2 separate regions of the Homo sapiens genome follow, and region 1 is linked to region 2. Evidence: promoter capture Hi-C in human tissues and cell types (Jung and others, 2019). All regions are on one chromosome and are shown on one strand. The core of a region is centred on a gene start or on the middle of the fragment in contact, and the rest is flanking DNA. Distances in the headings are between cores, read along the strand shown.

Region 1 (3,334 bases), core at 373-2,872, 360 kb before region 2:
TGGAAAACATTCCCTATCAGCACATAAATGAACCAATTATTTAAAAAGGTGGATGAAAAGCCATGTTGTGGTTATAATCAACATCTATTTAATCAGTCCATATTTATGGACTTAAAGATGTTTCTGGCCAGGCGTGGTGGCTCACGTCTGTAATCCCAGCACTTTGGGAGGCCGAGGCAGGCGGATCACAAGGTCAGGAGATAGAGACCATCCTGTCTAACACGGTGAAACCCTGTCTCTACTAAAAATATAACAAATTAGCCAGGCGTGGTGGTGGGTACCTGTAGTCCCAGCTACTCGGAAGGCTGAGGCAGGAGAATGGCATGAACCTGGGAGGCGGAGGTTGCAGTGAGCCGAGATCGCACCACTGCACTCCAGCCTGGGCGACAGAGTGAGACTCCATCTCAAAAAAAAAAAAAAAAAAAAAAGATGTTTCTAATGCTTTTATTGTTTTTTCATTTATTTTCTTAAGTGCTAGTATTTCTGAACACTGTATTACTAAGGGTGTGATTGTGGGTATGTACAATTTACATTAACATAGATTCCAGGCAATTGCTCTCCCAAAAAGGTTGCTTCAATTTATATTCCTGCCAATAGTGTAGAAGAATGCTTACTTTCCTGTAGGCTTGCCGTTGGATGGATATTATTGCTCTTGTTATTTGCATGAATTTTTTTTTTGCCAGTCTGCTAACTGAAAAATGGTATCTCATCATTGTTTTAAGTTTTCATTTATTTGATTATGAATAAGGGCATACTTTTCATAACTTAATTGACCACTATATTTCTTCCTGTGTGAATTGCCTATTTTGCTACTGGTTTTTTTTTCTTTTTCTTATTTTTTTTGGGAACACTTTGCATATTGTAGATATTGATTCACTGTATACATTGCAAATATTCTCTCGATCTATTTGTTTATCTTTTAAACTTGTTTACAGTATCTTCACCAGGCAGAAGTTGAAATTTTTATATAGTCCAAGGAATCCAAGGAAGCATTCACTTTTTACAGCTTCTGCTTTCTGTGCAATGCTCAGAAAATCACCTCCCACCCCAAAGTCATAAGAAAGTTGTACATTCTATCTAGCATGTAGTACATTTCAACTACAACTATAATTGTATTTTAACTACATTTTCAATTTCAACTGTATTCCTGCTTCAACTGTATTGGTGACATTTTAATACTTAATATATAAGCTAGGTGTTGGGTATATAGGTGTTTTTTATATTATTCGATCTAATTTTTTGTGTGCCTGAAGTATATATATGTATATACACACACATCTCTCTCTCTCTCTCTCTCTCTCTCTCTCTATATATATATATATATATATATATATATATGTAATTTTTTTTTGAGACAGTGTTTGGCTCTGTTGCCCAGACTGGAGTGCAGTGGTGTACTCATAGCTCACTGCAATCTTGAACTCTTGGGCTCAAGCAATCCTCCTGCCTCAGCCTCCTGAGTAGCTAGGACTACAGGCATGTACCACATAGCCTGGCTAATTTTTTTTAATTTTTATTTTTAGTAGAGAAGAGCTCTTGCTATGTTGCCCAGGCTGGTCTTGAACTCCTGGGCTCAAGCAAGCCTCCCTCTTCAGCCTCCCAAAGTGCTAGGATTACAGGTGTGAACCACCATGCCCAGACTACAATATATATATATTTAAAAATAAAGACAGGGAAATGCCTAATACATTTTTGATGGAGGCTGGGTGCGGTGGTTCATGCCTGTAATCCCAGCACTTTGGGAGGCTGAAATGGGCAGATCACTTGAGGTCAAAATTTTTTTGATGGAGTTGTACTGCCCCAAAACTTCAAGTCTGGTAAAAACAAACAAACAAGCAAACAAAAAGCAAAACAAAACACAAAAACAAGACAAAAATTTTTTTGAAAAAGTCTGTGATGTTATTTCCAAGCCCAAGCAATCTCTGCAGTCTAGAATCTGCACCATTAGGAACTGGCCACTAGAGAACTGAGATCCCCAATGCCCACTTCAGATGTGGGAATGGTGAAGGGTGGGCAGGGAGTACTCGTTTTCCTCCTAGAGGGCAGGGCTGGGCAGTTGAACTGGCTGCCCAAGAAACTCAACATTTTTTTTTTTACATCTTTATTGATGTTAAACAAATCTTTTACATCTTTATCTATATAATTCACGCACTATAAAATTCACCCATTTAAGATGAACCATTCAATGCCATTCAATGCTTTTTAGTATATTCACGCAGTTGTACATCCATCATCACATCTAAGTTTAGAACACTTTCATTGCCCCCAGAATAAACCGTGTTCCTGTTAGCAGCCACTTTCCATTCCTCCCTCCCGCCAGCCTGCAGCAACTACTAATCTGCTTTCTGTCTGGAAATGGAATCACACAAAGCCTTTTATGTCTGGCTTCTTCATTACTTTTTAGGGCCATATAATATTCCATTGTATAGCTATGCCATATTTTGTTTATCTATTCATTAGCTGATGGGCATTTGGGCTATTCCCATTTCTCAATTATTATAAATAATGCTGCTATGAACATTGTGTGCAAATTTTTCTGGGGACACATGTTTTCATTTGCCTTGGGTAGATACCCAGGAGTTGTAATCCTGGGTCCTGTGGTAGCTCAATGTCTAACATTTCTCAGTATTTTTCTAGCAGGGCTTTGGATGTGCTGCAGGCTAGGGGTCTCCCATCCTCCTTTCCCTTACTGGGGGTTGACATGGCACTTTTCCTTCCCTCTCTGCACAGGTGAGGTTGGGAGTGAGGGGGGCCTTAAGCCTAGACTGTAACACGGTCACTGGGGTCCAGCTCCTGGAGCCGGACCTGTCACTGGGAGAGACAGTGTTACCTCCAGTATTCATTTTCCATTGCTGCTGTAACAAAGTGCCACCAACTGAGCAGCTTCAAGCAACATCCATTTAGCATCACAGTTTCTGTGCACTGCAAGTCTGGGCAGAGAGTGCCTCAACTGTATTTTCTGCTTAGGGGCTTACAAGGCAAAATCGAGGTGTTGGCAGGCTGGGCTCTTTCCCGGAGGTGCTCATTAGGGTTGTGAGCAGAATTCAGTCGCTTATGATTGCAGGCCTGGGGTCTCCATTTCTTTGCTACGTGGCCTGAGGCTTCCTTTGTTTTCAAAGCAGCAGTCGCGCTTTCCATCCTTCCTTCCCAAGCTTTAAATCTCCCTTTCCCCCATGCTGTCTCTTTCCAATGTCCTTTCTACCTCTGCCACCAGCCATGGAAAGTTCTCTGCTTTTAAGGGCTTGTGTGACCCACTGAGCCCATGTGGATGATCCAAGACACTCTCCCTATTTTAAGGTCAACTGACGAGCAGCCTTAATTACATCTGCAAAGT
Region 2 (3,547 bases), core at 439-2,938:
CACTCCAGCCTGGTAACAGAGCGAGACTCCATCTCAGAAAAAAACAAAAAAACAAAAAAACAAAAAACGGGTCTTTTCATTTGCAGAGATAGGAGGGGTACAGAATTTAGGACAGAGGAGTGGGTAAGGGAATGTTTGTCTTATTTGTGATGTTCTATTTCTTCACAAGTAGCATGTATTCATGTATTACATGTATAATTAAAAATTAATGGTACCTCTTTGTGGGGCATTTTGGCAGTACCCACCACGACCGAAAACACACATGCCCCTTGCCCCAGCCAGTTATTATCTATTATCCTACATATATGCGAACATACCAAAGAGTTCTGTTCTAGAATATTCACTGCAAAATGGTTTGTAAATACTGGAAACAGCATAAACGTCCATCATTAAAAGATTTGTTCAGAAAATGTTGGTACAGGCCGGACGTGGTGGCTCACGCCTGTAATCCCAGGACTTTGGGAGGCCAGGGCGGGCGGGTCATGAAGTCAGGAGTTTGAGACCAGCCTGACCAACATGGTGAAACCCGTCTCTACTGAAAATACAAAAAAATTAGCCGGGCGTGGTGGCGCGCGCCTGTAATCCCAGCTACTCAGGAGACTGAGGCAGGACAATCGCTTGAACCCAGGAGGCGGAAGTTGCAGTGAGCCGAGATCGTGCCACTGCACTCCAGGCTGGGCGACAGAACAAGACTCTGTCTCAAAAAGAAAAAAAAAAAAAGAAAAAGAAAATGTTGGTACAAGGGTGCAGTTGAATTCTATGTGAGCTTTAAAAAGAATGATGTAGCTTTGTGTACAGATATGGGGCACTCTCCAGACACAATGTTGAGTGAAATCGTGTCTAAAAGGATGAGGGAAAGAGGGATTTATACATACACACAGATATGCTTGTATTGACGTGGAGCCTTTCTGAAATGATATACAAAAACTGGTAGCAGCGGTTGGCTCTAGGAACGGGAATCAGACCAAATGACAGGTGAATGAAGACAGCCTTTGTATGTATACCCTTTTTGTAGCTTGTGAGTTTTCTTATTTTGAGTTTTCTTTACTTGACCATGTATTATAAACACATTTGGTAGGGATTTTTTGATTTTTTTTTTTTTTTTTTTTTAAGGAAGGCGCCTTGCAGCTCGGTTCTGCTGGATGGGAAAAGCTGAATCTCAAAGCCTCCGCTCACTTGCTGCGGAGCCCTAGGCAAGTCACGTCCGCCTCTTGGGGCGTCAGGAGCCCCACCAATGAGGTGGGGCGATTTCCCGTCCCGGCAAAGGCTCGAGCGAATTCGGACACGGGGCCCGGTCGCTCCGCCCGCGTCCCTGAGCCCGGCTCCCGCCCCGGCCCGCGCTCACCGCCGATGATGGTCCGGATGAGGGAGGCGTGCCCGGGGCAGTCGACCAGCGTGACCTGAAGCAGTGGCTCGCCGGGCTCGGGCTCGGCCTCGGGCGCTGCCTGGAACTCGGGCAAAGACGACCGCAGGCGCGCGGGCAGCGGCACCGAGAAGCACGAGAAGCCCAGATCGAGCGTGATGCCGCGCTCGCGGCTCTGCGGCTGCTTGTCAAAGGCGGCGGTGGAGGCTGTGGTGCTTAGCGCCCGCGCCAGCGCCGTCTTGCCGCTGTCGATGTGGCCCAGCACGCCCACGTTCACGTTCACCCGCCGCCCTGCCATGCCGCCGCCGCCGCCTCGGACACCCGCCCGGCCCGCCCCTCACCTCCCTCGGTAGTCGCCGCGGTCCGGCCCGTTAAGTTGCCCCCCCGTAACCGGCGCGCTGTGCACACCCGTTCCGGCCCGGAAGCTTCCGCCCTCCTGAGGCTCACGGGCACAGCCGAGCGCCGTGCTCCGAGTGGGTGGTCTAGGAACTGGAGGTCACCGTAGGCAGGGTTTCTCTCTCACGTGGCTCCTCCTGCCTGAAGCCTCTAGGAGCCCGAGATGGAGGGATCCTTCTGAGAAGTGAAGCCATTTGGACTTTCTGGGTGAGTGGAGACTTGGAGAACTTTTCTATAGCTATCAAGAGGATTGTAAAATGCACCAATCAGCGCTCTGTAAAACGCACCAATCAGTGCTCTGTAACATGCACCAATCAGCAGGATCCTAAAAGAAGCCAATCACAGGGAGGATTGAAAAAAGGGCGCTCTGATAGGACAAAAACGGAACATGGGGGGGCGAAGGGGGGCGGGGGGGGCGGGGTGGGCGGGGGGAAGACGGGGGCGGGGGGGGCGGGAAGACGGGGGCGGGGGGGAGGGCGGGGGGACGGCGGGGGGCGGGGGAGGGCGGGGGGACGTGGGGGAGGGGGCAAATAAGGGAATAAAAGCTGGCCACCCCCGCCAGCAGCAGCAACCCTCTCAGGTGCCCTTTCGCATTGCAGAAGCTTTTTGCTCTTCACAATAAATCTTGCTGCTGCTCACTCTTTGGGACTGTGCCATCTTTAAGAGCTTTAACACTCACTGCGAAGGTCCGCGGCTCCATTCTTGAAGTCAGCGAGACTAGGAACCCACTGGAAGAAACCAACTCCGGACACACTTCCAATCATTCATACATTTCAGCAAGATCTTACCAAGTGCCTGGTGGGTTCCGCTGGGCTACAGTGCCCGCTAATATTACATTCAGGGGGTGAGGGCTAAGTCAAACAATACAGCCTGAACCAGACCATTTCAGAGAGCGAGAAGTCTCCTAGGGAAAATAAAAGCTGAGATAAAAAGGAGCAGGAGAGGGAGGATGGACAGCTACCTAACTGTGGGTCAGGGAAGACATCTAGGAGTTGCTGTTTGAGTTGAAACTCCAGTGTTGAGAAGGAGCCAACCATGGGAAAAGATGGTTTGAAGATGGAAGAGGACAACATTATCTCTGACTCAGAAATTCTCACCCTGAGAGTCTGTAGCCTGGGCTTAGGAGAGGCCACAAACCTCTAAATTGAACGCACAATGTGTTGTGATGTGCTCTTGCTAGACAGAGGGTCGACAACTCTCACTAGATTCTGAAGTGTCTAGAACCACAAAAAAGGTTGTCAGCCATAGTCACCAACCAGAGGTAACAAACCTAAGTGTCTGCTCTGGCCAGGTGGTGGGTAAATCAAAGAAGAGAAGTTAAAAGAGTCTAAGATGACAGGGAGTGGTGGGGACCTGGGAGACCTGGAGAGCCCTTTTCCTGTGCAAAGAGGGAAGCCACTGCTCAGTCTCAGCCAGTGATACCAGGCAGGAATGCTAGCCCAACATTGCCTCCTCCTTCCATTTTTCTGGAGAAGAGAGTGTTTTTGTAACACTGTGGCGGTGGAGCACAAAGTTCACAGGATCTTACCTTTGCCCTCTGTGATGAGCCAGACCATGTGCGGATGTATTCATGCTTGCAGTAACTGCCTCCTTCGTTCCACCACTCTCCACTAGGAACAGAGTCCATGTCATAGACTGAATTGTGTCCCTCTCAAATTCATATGTGGACACCCTGACCCCCAGTGTGATAGTATTTGGAGATGGGACGTTTGGGAGGTTAGATGAGATCATGAGAGCGGGCCCTTGTGATGGGATTAGGGTCCTTACAAGAAGAGAACAGAATCTTTG

What was found. The method cuts DNA at HindIII sites, captures the fragments that hold promoters and counts their contacts. A contact is called where the count stands out against the background at its distance.
Region 1: a fragment that was not itself captured here is called in contact with the fragment with the promoter of EEFSEC in region 2 in 1 of the 25 tissues and cell types used here (mesenchymal stem cells).

The regions. Positions count from the first base shown.
Region 1 is chr3:128,509,346-128,512,679 of GRCh38, reverse strand. It overlaps LOC90246 (a long non-coding RNA gene), which reads right to left. Exons shown (of 1, transcript NR_026954.1): 1 at 2,085-3,334. Among named protein-coding and RNA genes, the nearest start is that of GATA2, 18 kb to the right of the region's middle. The HindIII fragment of the contact is 6,617 bases long and covers 1-3,334 here.
Region 2 is chr3:128,151,622-128,155,168 of GRCh38, reverse strand. EEFSEC (eukaryotic elongation factor, selenocysteine-tRNA specific) reads right to left here and starts at 1,688. Exons shown (of 7, transcript NM_021937.5): 1 at 1,346-1,688. The coding sequence starts at 1,661. It also overlaps a transcript of RUVBL1 not described here. RefSeq lists a silencer at 1,178-1,697 and an enhancer at 1,828-2,057. The HindIII fragment of the contact is 4,118 bases long and covers 1-2,075 here.